Regions from separate parts of the Homo sapiens genome. Here region 1 is linked to region 2. The links are contacts of gene promoters, found by promoter capture Hi-C in blood cells and fetal thymus (Javierre and others, 2016). All regions are on one chromosome and are shown on one strand. The core of a region is centred on a gene start or on the middle of the fragment in contact, and the rest is flanking DNA. Distances in the headings are between cores, read along the strand shown.

Region 1 (4,830 bases), core at 1,073-3,572, 170 kb after region 2:
AATCTCACCACAGTAAATTTGTTTTTCCCACATTTTTTTTTTCTTTCTGTGGTCTCATGTTTTCTAATTATTTAAAGAGAAGCACTCATTCTTTACTTGGACAAAATATTATTAATATCCCCACCATTTGGGATGATATTTTTATAGGGTATTATAATAGGTTTTTATGTATGAATTTGACTATTAAATTGAAATAATTTACACTAAATACAGATAGAAAGAATAACTTATTTAATCAGACCAGATGATATGATTAAAGCCATTGTTCCTGTAGACAGACAGTAGGTTATGTACTTATCCAGATAATTTGATTACTGTAAACAGTCAACTTTGCCTGAATTATCTGGATAATTGCCTCACTTCTCCATTTTACATAGCCTAAGGTTCTAGGTTTATTTTTGCTTCCCACGGACCACTTTCTGCAGTGATCAGCAATCAGAGAAAATCAGATTATCACTCTGTTTAACCTTCCTGTGCCTTGGGTAATTAAGTCAACAAATTAGCTAAAGGCTCCAATGCGGAAGGGGATTGGTAGACTGTGGTTAAGACACATATTTACGAATTTTCCCTTAAGCTGCTTTTTTTTTTTTTTTAAGGAAGCTTTGATAAGAAGCATATGATCTCAATTATCATTAACTCTTTGTGGTTTCGTGTTTGGGAGCTTGAACTAGACTTTAGAAGGCCTAGGACCCCCTTCCATGTGTGCCTGAGCAGTATATTGGCAGACCATTCACATTTTCCATCTCATTATCTCACATCGAGAAAGCAGACTTAAATCACTCTTCACACACTCATTACAGACTGAGGGACTATACTTACTTGAGCAGGCTGCTTTGGGATTTTCTTTAGTGACTTTTGGTTATATGCTTTTGTAATCAACTGAGCGTCTTTCTTTAAGGCTATTTTTCAATACGAAATTCTTTAAAATGAAATCTCTTAAAATCTGAGGGAAAGGTATAGACATAAAAACAATTCCTATCATATACAGATAAATAAGAACTTAATAAAAATTTATTGCTATTGTTTCAAAATCTAACCTTTATTTTTTAATGTTGTTTTGTTATTTGTTTTTCAGTATTTTAAATTTAGTTTTTCTGTAGAAAAGTTTTGAAGGATACCAGAATGTGTAATAGCTGATGTGTCATAATATCATTATTGATTATACATATTGATAAGCTACTCCAAATATTAACCTTTGATTCAGAACCAGGAATGGGCTTAGCGTGAGGACTCGCAGGACTTGGCCAGTTGGAATGCACAGGCTGATGAGCCCAGCTATGTCTGAGTGCACAATTTCAAAGGAGCATGTCTGTCTCACTAATCCTGTGTAAATGTGTAAATCATTCAAGGTCTAATCAAATAAAGTGTTCTGTCTGATGGAACCCTTCAAACATAGGGCATATAACTTCAAGAAAAGTGGAGTTTTGTTCTGCAAATCATCATATAAAACATTATATTTGTGATGAGGCAGATTTTCTGGTTATCTATGTATATATTATACTGCCATAGAAGTAAGAAAAATATTTCAAATACTATCACTTTGGTATATCACTCCCAAATCTAATAGAAAAGTGGCATCCGCTAAAAATAAGGACTTGGAGAATATATAATTGTACTTTTCCACTCATTGCTTTGATGAGAGAACAATTCTATAGTGCCTACCAATACTGAAATTAATGTAACAGCCAAAGCCACAGAAACACTTGGATAAATAGTGGGTGTTTATGGCAGTGGGATTTTGACATTGTGGCAACACTCTTTATTACAATTTTATTTTGAAGAATTGTTACTGTTGCTCACTTTTAAAATAATATTTGAGTTTGATAACCATGCATTAATCAGAAATCAGCCTATTGCATTTTACTGTACAAAGGAACCATTACTGAATCTAAAAACAGTTGATGATAGTGACATTATCACTATTATTAATTTATAATAGTGGCTATTTTCCTGTTATTAAAACCATGTGAAAATTTCAATTAAAATTAACTTTTTAAAGCTGAGTAACCCCAGGAAAGAGACAATGCCCATCTTTTCCAGGGGCAGGGAACAAGTTTCTGTCTTAGCTGCATGTAATCCTCCATAAAGATGTAGAAATTGAAGAGTACCTTATTATACCACAGATAATTTATCAATTTCATTCTGCAACTGAACAACTTCCCTATTCCTGGTTTGCATGGAAGACAGGCTAGATTAACTCACTGAGATAAATATTCCCCAAGATTTTTATGAATTACAAAAGGTTTTTTTTTTTTTTTTGCTATTTCAAGAGGAGCATTTTATTGCCTTGGTAGCTGAAAACAAATCTTCATGTATTATTCCAAATGACTTGCCCAGTTTGCCTCCTAAGATATGGATCGAAAAAATAAATATTATATTTTAGATAATGAAAGTAATGGGTACCCAATGTGAAACTTGAAAAATGGGTAAAAAAATAAAAAATAAATAATGGTCATTAAGTAGGAATATTTTTATACATTTTTAGAGTTTTCTGTGAATAAGTATTTTCCACAATTGAGAACACATTGCATATTATCATTTCAAGTCACATTTCTTCCTGACTTAGTATTATAGCATGTGTATATCATTTAGAATTTATTATATTTCAAGGGTCAGTAAACCCAATTCAAACTGGCTGAAAAAAATCCAGGATATTATTGGCCATAGAACTGAAAAATCCAGCAGGAGAAGTAGATTCAAGCACACACCAAAAGTTCGTCTGGGCTCTGGTTTTATTTACTTTCACTTCTCTCAGATTTACTTTCTTTACTTGGCTTTTCCTCATATTAGCTTCCCTTATGGTATGGAACTCAAACCACTAGAATCAGTTCCAGACTTTACACCCTCTTACCACTGTATTCAAAGAGAGATATTGTTTTCCAAAGCTCTTATAAAAGAAAATATTTTTTCCAATATTTCTAGAAAAATATCAATGGTACACTCTAATGAGAGATGTTTAGATCTGGTGCACGCCCCTAAAACAATCTTTAAGACAAGGGAACATTTTTTTCTGATAGGCTTAGACTTGGGATACATGTTCCAACCCATCTGGTCCACACAGACCAAGTACTATTTAATGCACTTATAACTACCACCTTAAAAGTATCTATGCACTTATAACTACCACATTAAAAGTATCTTCACAAATATCATTGTAATGTCGGTGTACTATCTCATTTTACTGTTATATCAACATTTTATTTAACATGCTTCTCTTATTAGATATTTAGGCTGTGTCCAACATTTCTTTTTTTTTTGTTGTTGTTGTTGTTGAGACGAAGTCTCACTCTGTCACCCAGGCTGGAGTGCAGTGGCGGGCTCTCGGCTCACTGAAAGCTCTGCCTTCTGGGTTCACACCATTCTCCTGCCTCAGCCTCCTGAGTAGCTGGGACTACAGGTGCCCGCCACCACACCCAGCTAATTTTTTGCATTTTCAGTAGAGATGGGGGTTTCACCATGTTAGCCAGGATGGTCTCGATCTCCTGACCTCGTGATCTACCCACCTCGGCCTCCCAAAGTGCTGGGATTATAGGTGTGAGCCACCGCACCTGGCCAACATTTCTGTAATGTAAATCATTTTGCAAATATCCTCTTTTATAAATATTTGGCTGCCTCGGGTTTTAATCTTTTAAAGATTACTACAAGTATAGTAGTTAGACCAAAGAAAAAGATATTTTTCTTTCTTATGTTGCTTTTTAGAAGAACCATATACCTCATATGTAGGGATACCTATCTATTACACCCTTGCCAGCATCATTTTTTAAAAATCAAAACTTTGTAATTTGTGAAATCATATACATCATGGTTATTTTTATTCAACTTTATTTACTTTACTAATGAAATTTATATTTCTCTTTAGTAATAATTGAGAATAGTAATTGGGCACTACTGTCCACCAATTACTAGTCTGGACTTAGATATATCAGATTATTTCAACATCTTAAAACCTATATAATTAATTAACTTGCCAAAAGTAAAATAAATAGTTAATGGATGGCCATCCAGGATTCAAATCATGTTTACCTGACTCAAATCTAAGCTTTTAATAATCTTGCAAAACTACTTCCTGAATTATCCATAGCAACTATTTGTATTTCCTACTTTGTTATTTGGTTATAACATTTACTATGATTCACTGGGAAGAATTCTAATCTCTGCTTGTTTCCAAAATCTAAAATAGCCAAAAGGCATCACAATTGAATTCACTATAGAATTGAAACTTTTCTAAGGAAAAATGAAAAATCTGGTGAAAGTCAAAGTCACAGTTTCTACACAGATTACTACCATTCTGTCATTCAGCACATGGGTGCTAAACTGAAATGCTCTACATAACTTTACATTATTAATGTTTGCAAAAGGCAAAAAAAAAAAAAGAATTTATTGCTTTAGCCCTCTTCTCTACGTCCTTGTCTGTCTGTCATGGCTGAAAGCAAAGTCTACAAGTGTTAATAAGATCTCTCTACAATTTGTATTTAAAATGCTTACAAAATTGGAAATGGAAAGAGTATCTTGCCAACTTACACTAATATTCCCAGTTCATAGGTTGAAATATGAAAGAGAAGATTATAAAACTTGTATCTATGTGTTTGTATTAGCATGAAACAGAATTACATTCACAAAAGGCCTTTATGATTTTGCTAAAGAATATTCAGCACAGATCAAAGAAACACATTATTCTTATATTGTGAACATAGTAAGCCACAGGAAAACTTTTACCTTTTGTAAAAGTTTCTGGGGCATCAAGTTACCCACTGGAAGATGAATTTTTACATCCTAATTCATTTCACCAGAAATATTTATAAGTCATATGTATTTCTCTGTCTCTCTCTC
Region 2 (5,214 bases), core at 2,715-5,214:
AAGGCCATGTCACAGATAAGCATGTCTCTATCACATGGGCAGATATGACACCCTCTGACCACCCACCCCATGGCTATAGGGGCCTAAGGTAGTCCTTGCCAGATGCAGTGCGCCTGTGTATTTGTGTTGGTTAAAAAGAAGGCCTGTGACATTTACACATTCTCAGAGAGTTCATGAGCAAAAACAAGCAAAGAAAAAATAGCAGGACTGGAACACAGGACAGTACAGGATGAAAAGTATGGGAAGGTCAGGCCTTAGGGTTACAAAGGACACTGCTGACAACAAGAAAGCAGCCTACCGCTGTCAGCTGTCTCTCACAGCCTGTCTCTCATGGCCAGACCATGGTATTCCCTGCTGACCCTAAACACTTCCACAGAATACCGGTGTACAACAATATTACTCTGTTGTGAGATCCCAAATCATTCCAAAATCATGTCTTCATATAGACAGAAAAGGTTGCTCTGTGAACCACAAAAACGAAAAACATGCCCCTCTCCTGCTTAATATAAACATCTGCCACTCTTTTACAAAATACAGCTTCGCCTTGCTCTGTTCTACTTATCTCCTAAATAAAAGTTAAGATGCACAATCACAGAATTGCCCAGCTTACGGACAGCACCCTATCCAGAACAGACTCCTGCTTCTTAAACCCCTTCCCCCAAAACCAACTAAAACAAAACAAGTCTTATAGAAATCCCCTCCCGACACCCTGTTACTGAGAAATCCTAGGGTACACCATTGTGCTCAATATCCCTGTTGGAACAAACAGTTAAAAGAAACTAAAAATAATAAATCCATTTTATCTGACTATAAGCATATTCCTGATGGTCCTCACTTGGAGAGCAATAACATTCTCATTGCTATTGTCCTACTCACAGCAGCTCTGTGGAAAAGGGAATGAGGTTCAAAATCTGATTTGAAAGATGTAAAACTGAGGTTCGGCCAGAATATGGGGTCTATCTAAGCTCATATTCATGAGACAAAACCAAGCCTTCTGGTTTCCAATCTCAAACCATGCCTCTCACATGGAGCCACCCAAGAACACTGCTTCCCAAGCTGAGAAGACTCTTGAACAGTCACCCTGGAGGGAATGAAGGCCTTTCTTAAGCAGGCTGTCATGGTGAGCCACGTGCCATGCACTCTGAATGTGGACCAGTTAAGGACACACCACTCCACAGCCAAGGCAGCGGTGCCCTCTTTCCCAGACGAGGAAACTGAGGACATGAAGGCAGTGGAACTTGAATAAGGTCACACTGTTGGGAAGTGGGAGAGCTGGGATTTCACCCTAGTCTACAAAAAAGGGGATGTAGGGCACCAGGCAGTCCTCCTGCAGGTCAGAGAGGCAGTTTTCTCTGCAGCCTCTTGGGGTGAGGTGGATTTGTTGTGGCGCTGCCAGAATGGAAGCAGTGTTAGGAAAGTGGAAAGTTTTTTTTTTTTTTAGACGGAGAGGCTCTGTCGCCCAGGCTGGAGCGCAGTGGTGCAATCTCAGCTCACTGCAAGCTCCGCCTCCCGGGCTCACTCCATTCTCCTGCCTCAGCCTCCTGGGTAGCTGGGATTACAGGCACCCGCCACCACGCCCGGCTAGTTTGTTGTTTTTTTTTTTTTTGTATTTTTTAGTAGAGATGGGGTTTCACTGTGTTAGCCAGGATGGTCTCAATCTCCTGACCTCATGATCCGCCCGCCTCGGCCTCCCAAGGTGCTGGGATTACAGGAGTGAGCCACCACGCCTGGCTGGGAAGGGTTTTAAAGTCCAGAACAAATGCACACAGTGGCCTTATCTATGGGGTGGAGTGCAGAGTGGGCATTCGTGTGGAGAGAGACATTCAGGCTGCGGCATGTGGAGAGTGGCCTCTCCTTTTGGGAAAGGCCTTCTGGAGAGCAGGATGTAACTGGGTGACACTCCAATCTCCGGATCAATTGCTAGATTGACTTTCCCCCAGATACCCACACCCTCTGAACCCAGTTCTAGGAAATTTCAGGGTCTGGAGAGCAGTTTCCTGACCTCTGGACTAGGTAAACAATGAAAGCAAGCACTGTGATTAAAGCCAGCACCGCCAGTGACCTGGAGTCAACTACCTCACCTCACCTTCTGCCACTGGAGCAGGAGCAGGGGGAAGCTCTGGCTGCTAAAGAATAAGAAGGGAAACAAGTCTTCTCAGGCCCTGTCTTCTTTAGGCCCTGGATCTCCTGATATCCACTGATGGCTTTAGGCATGTGGCTCTGTACCATCCTGGACATTTTTCCAGGCACAGCAGACAGGTCAGCAGGAAGTAAGGAAGCCAGTCCCTCCACAAGCCAAGAAGACTTCAATTGGAAGGGACCTGGAAATGCATCTTACTCACATTTCTTTTGGTGTTTGGAGGCCTCCATAGTACCCCCACCACATGGCCCCGCAGCCTCTGAACTTCTCAGGATGGGCTCCCCAACACCCCAAGCTACATGGCATTTTTCTGAAAGCCATATCAGTAATGTAGTTGAGAATCAAATGAACTATGTTCGTAAAAGTATTCTTCCATCCCTTCTAGATTGTCCCCATTAACCACAGCAAGATGGTTCAAGCCATTAACACACACGATACCCATGATCTTATAGTGCCAAGTGCTGTTCTTTTGCTTCTTATCTCAGTTGAGTGGCTCCTAGATAGTCAAGTCATAAATGTGTGTGCCCATGAAAACTTCTTATTATCACTCACTATTCTAGCTAATTCTCAAGTGCAATCAATACCTCCTGTTTCTCAAGTGTGCCTACCTTCTTAATCTAGCTGCCATTACCCTGACCCAGGCCACTGTCTTCTGCTGCTTAGATCATGGCAAGCACTTCCTTTTAGATCTGCTTTTCTCCAGTCCTGTTCCCCTCAACATCATAGCCAGAACAAGCCTTGCAAAATTCAAATGTGATCACCTCTCCACTACTGCAGTCCCTCTAGTGCCCCCTGGAAGGAAACCCAAAGTCTTTAACACAGTTTACAATTCTTGTTATGAGGATGAAATTTGAAGACATTGTGCTAAGTGAAATAAGCCAGATACAAGGGGGCTATTGTATGATTTCACATATATGAGGTACCTAGGATAGATGAATTCAGAGAGACAGAAAGTAAAACAGAAGTTACCAGTGGCTGTGGGTAGGGGTAAATGGAGAATTCTAGTTTAATGAGTTGAGAGTTTCAGTTTGGGATGATGAAAATCATCCCATGATGTGGTGATGATAGCACAACCGTGTGAATGTACTTAATGCTACTGAGTTGTGTGCTTAATAATAATGGTCAAAATGGTAAATTTTATGTCTATTTTACCACAATGAAAAACTGGAAAAGTAAAGTCAATGACTATAATATCATAAAGTGTAAGTAACATGAGAGAAAATAATTCAGGCTAAGAGGATAGAGACTGCTAGGTAGGACTATTTTAGAATAAGTGATCAAGGTACTGATTTCTCTGAAATTGGAATATTTGAATAGAAGAGAAAGAGCTAGCTGGCGATGCCCGTAAGGGGTCCAGGCATGGAGACATCAAATGAAGAGTCTGAGGCAGGAATGGCCTTAATGCATTAATGGCAGCAAGAGGTCTATGTGGTTTCATGGATGGGTGTGTGCGTGCATGCACGTGTCTGTGTGTATAGTTGGTGTGCATGAGCATGTGTATGCATTTGTGAGTATCTTTGTTTTTCTGTTGGAAACAAGGATGTCAACAGGACTAACTAGGTGAACCTAGCTGTGGTAGTTCAGCAATGAGATTTGCCAAAATGGATGGCAATTGAAAGAGGAATTGTGCTGTATTAAAGCAGACAGCTGCCGAGCACTGTATTGGAGGCTCCTAAATTTCTCATAGTTCTGAGAAGAGCTGTTTATTAATCTGGAGTTGAAGGCCAGGCCCAGGATATCCTTGTTCACAAGGTTGATTGGGCCCTACATTGCTGAGCCCAGCCTCCTCCCTCACTCTGAGGCATCTGCCAGAGCCCCAGGCTAGAGGGCCAGCGTCCTTGTCACTGAGTCCCTGCTCTGCAGAAACACCAGTAAGTCATTTCTGGTGAATAAATCTGGGTTTCCGGATCAAGGGTTTGGGGAGCTGACATGACCCTGGAGGCATGGAGGAGGCTTTCTAGGGGTGGGGGGAGTGGGATGGAAAGCAGAAATCAGGTTGAGGATGTCTCTTTTTCTGCTTGTGCTGGAGCATCTGTGACTTTCCTCCATTATCTGTTCATCTGCAGTGGAGACTGTCTTTGTTTTCAAAGGGAAACTTGGAGGCTTAGACCTATGGGGCTAGGCTGCTGAGGTTTCTTAGGGGGCAATAGCTGGAAGAAAGCTCTGAAGAACAAATGAAAGGTTAATACTGAGAAATGGGAGGAGGATTCAAGGCAAGTTTTCTAATTGCCAGTGGTTTTTGACTCACAGAACATGGGGAATTCCTGCCAGAAAGTAGAGAGGTATTTAGCACTCTGCCAGGGCCAACGTAGTAAGAAATTTCCAGAGAAAATGCTTACCCAGGCAAGCCTGTCTAAAACACCAAGGGGAAGCAAACTCCAGTTAATTCTGGGCTGGGTTGGTGACTAAGGTTGAGGTTGATCTGAGGTTGAGACCTTCCTCTTTGGATCACCAGCTTTCAGCTCAGGGCCTGCCAATGAGTAAATGATAGTTAACAGGTCCTGGAGGGGAATCAGCTGCCCAGATACAAAGATGGGATTCAGGTGGCAGATGGACCCGAAGAGGACATGGAGAGAAAGAGGAAGCTCCTACAGACACCTGGGTTTCCACTCATTCTCATTCCCTAAGCTAACAGGCATAAGCCAGCTGGCAATGCACGGTCCCATTTGTTCTCACTGCCACCGAAAGCATGTTTATAGTCTTCCAGCAGCAACGCCAGGTGTCTAGGCACAGATGAACCCCTCCTTAGGATCCCCACTGCTCATCATAGTGCCTACCTTTGTTAAAGTACTAGTCACGCAGTGTCACAAGGAATGTTTACTTTTCCAAATCCCCAGCTAGAGGCCAGGGATGGGTCATCTATTTCTATATAGCCTGCACCCAGATTGTAGGACAGAGGGCATGCTCGGTAAATATGTGTTCATTAACTGAGATTAACCTTCCCTGAGTTTTCTCACACCAAGGTGAGGACCATGTCCCTGTTTCCATCACTCCCTCTCCTTCTCCTGAGTATGGTGGCAGCGTCTTACTCAGAAACTGTGACCTGTGAGGATGCCCAAAAGACCTGCCCTGCA

What was found. The method cuts DNA at HindIII sites, captures the fragments that hold promoters and counts their contacts. A CHiCAGO score of 5 or more calls a contact.
Region 1: a fragment that was not itself captured here is called in contact with the fragment with the promoter of MBL2 in region 2 in 2 of 17 cell types (fetal thymus and megakaryocytes); the score reaches 6.0 in fetal thymus.

Annotation. Positions count from the first base shown.
Region 1 is chr10:52,595,580-52,600,409 of GRCh38, reverse strand. The region is part of intron 1 of LOC105378305 (a long non-coding RNA gene); the gene reads left to right. Among named protein-coding and RNA genes, the nearest start is that of LNCAROD, 130 kb to the right of the region's middle. The HindIII fragment of the contact is 3,439 bases long and covers 603-4,041 here.
Region 2 is chr10:52,771,534-52,776,747 of GRCh38, reverse strand. It overlaps MBL2 (mannose binding lectin 2), which reads left to right and starts at 3,964. Exons shown (of 5, transcript NM_001378373.1): 1 at 3,964-4,011; 2 at 5,104-5,214. The coding sequence starts at 5,113. The HindIII fragment of the contact is 7,250 bases long and covers 1-5,214 here.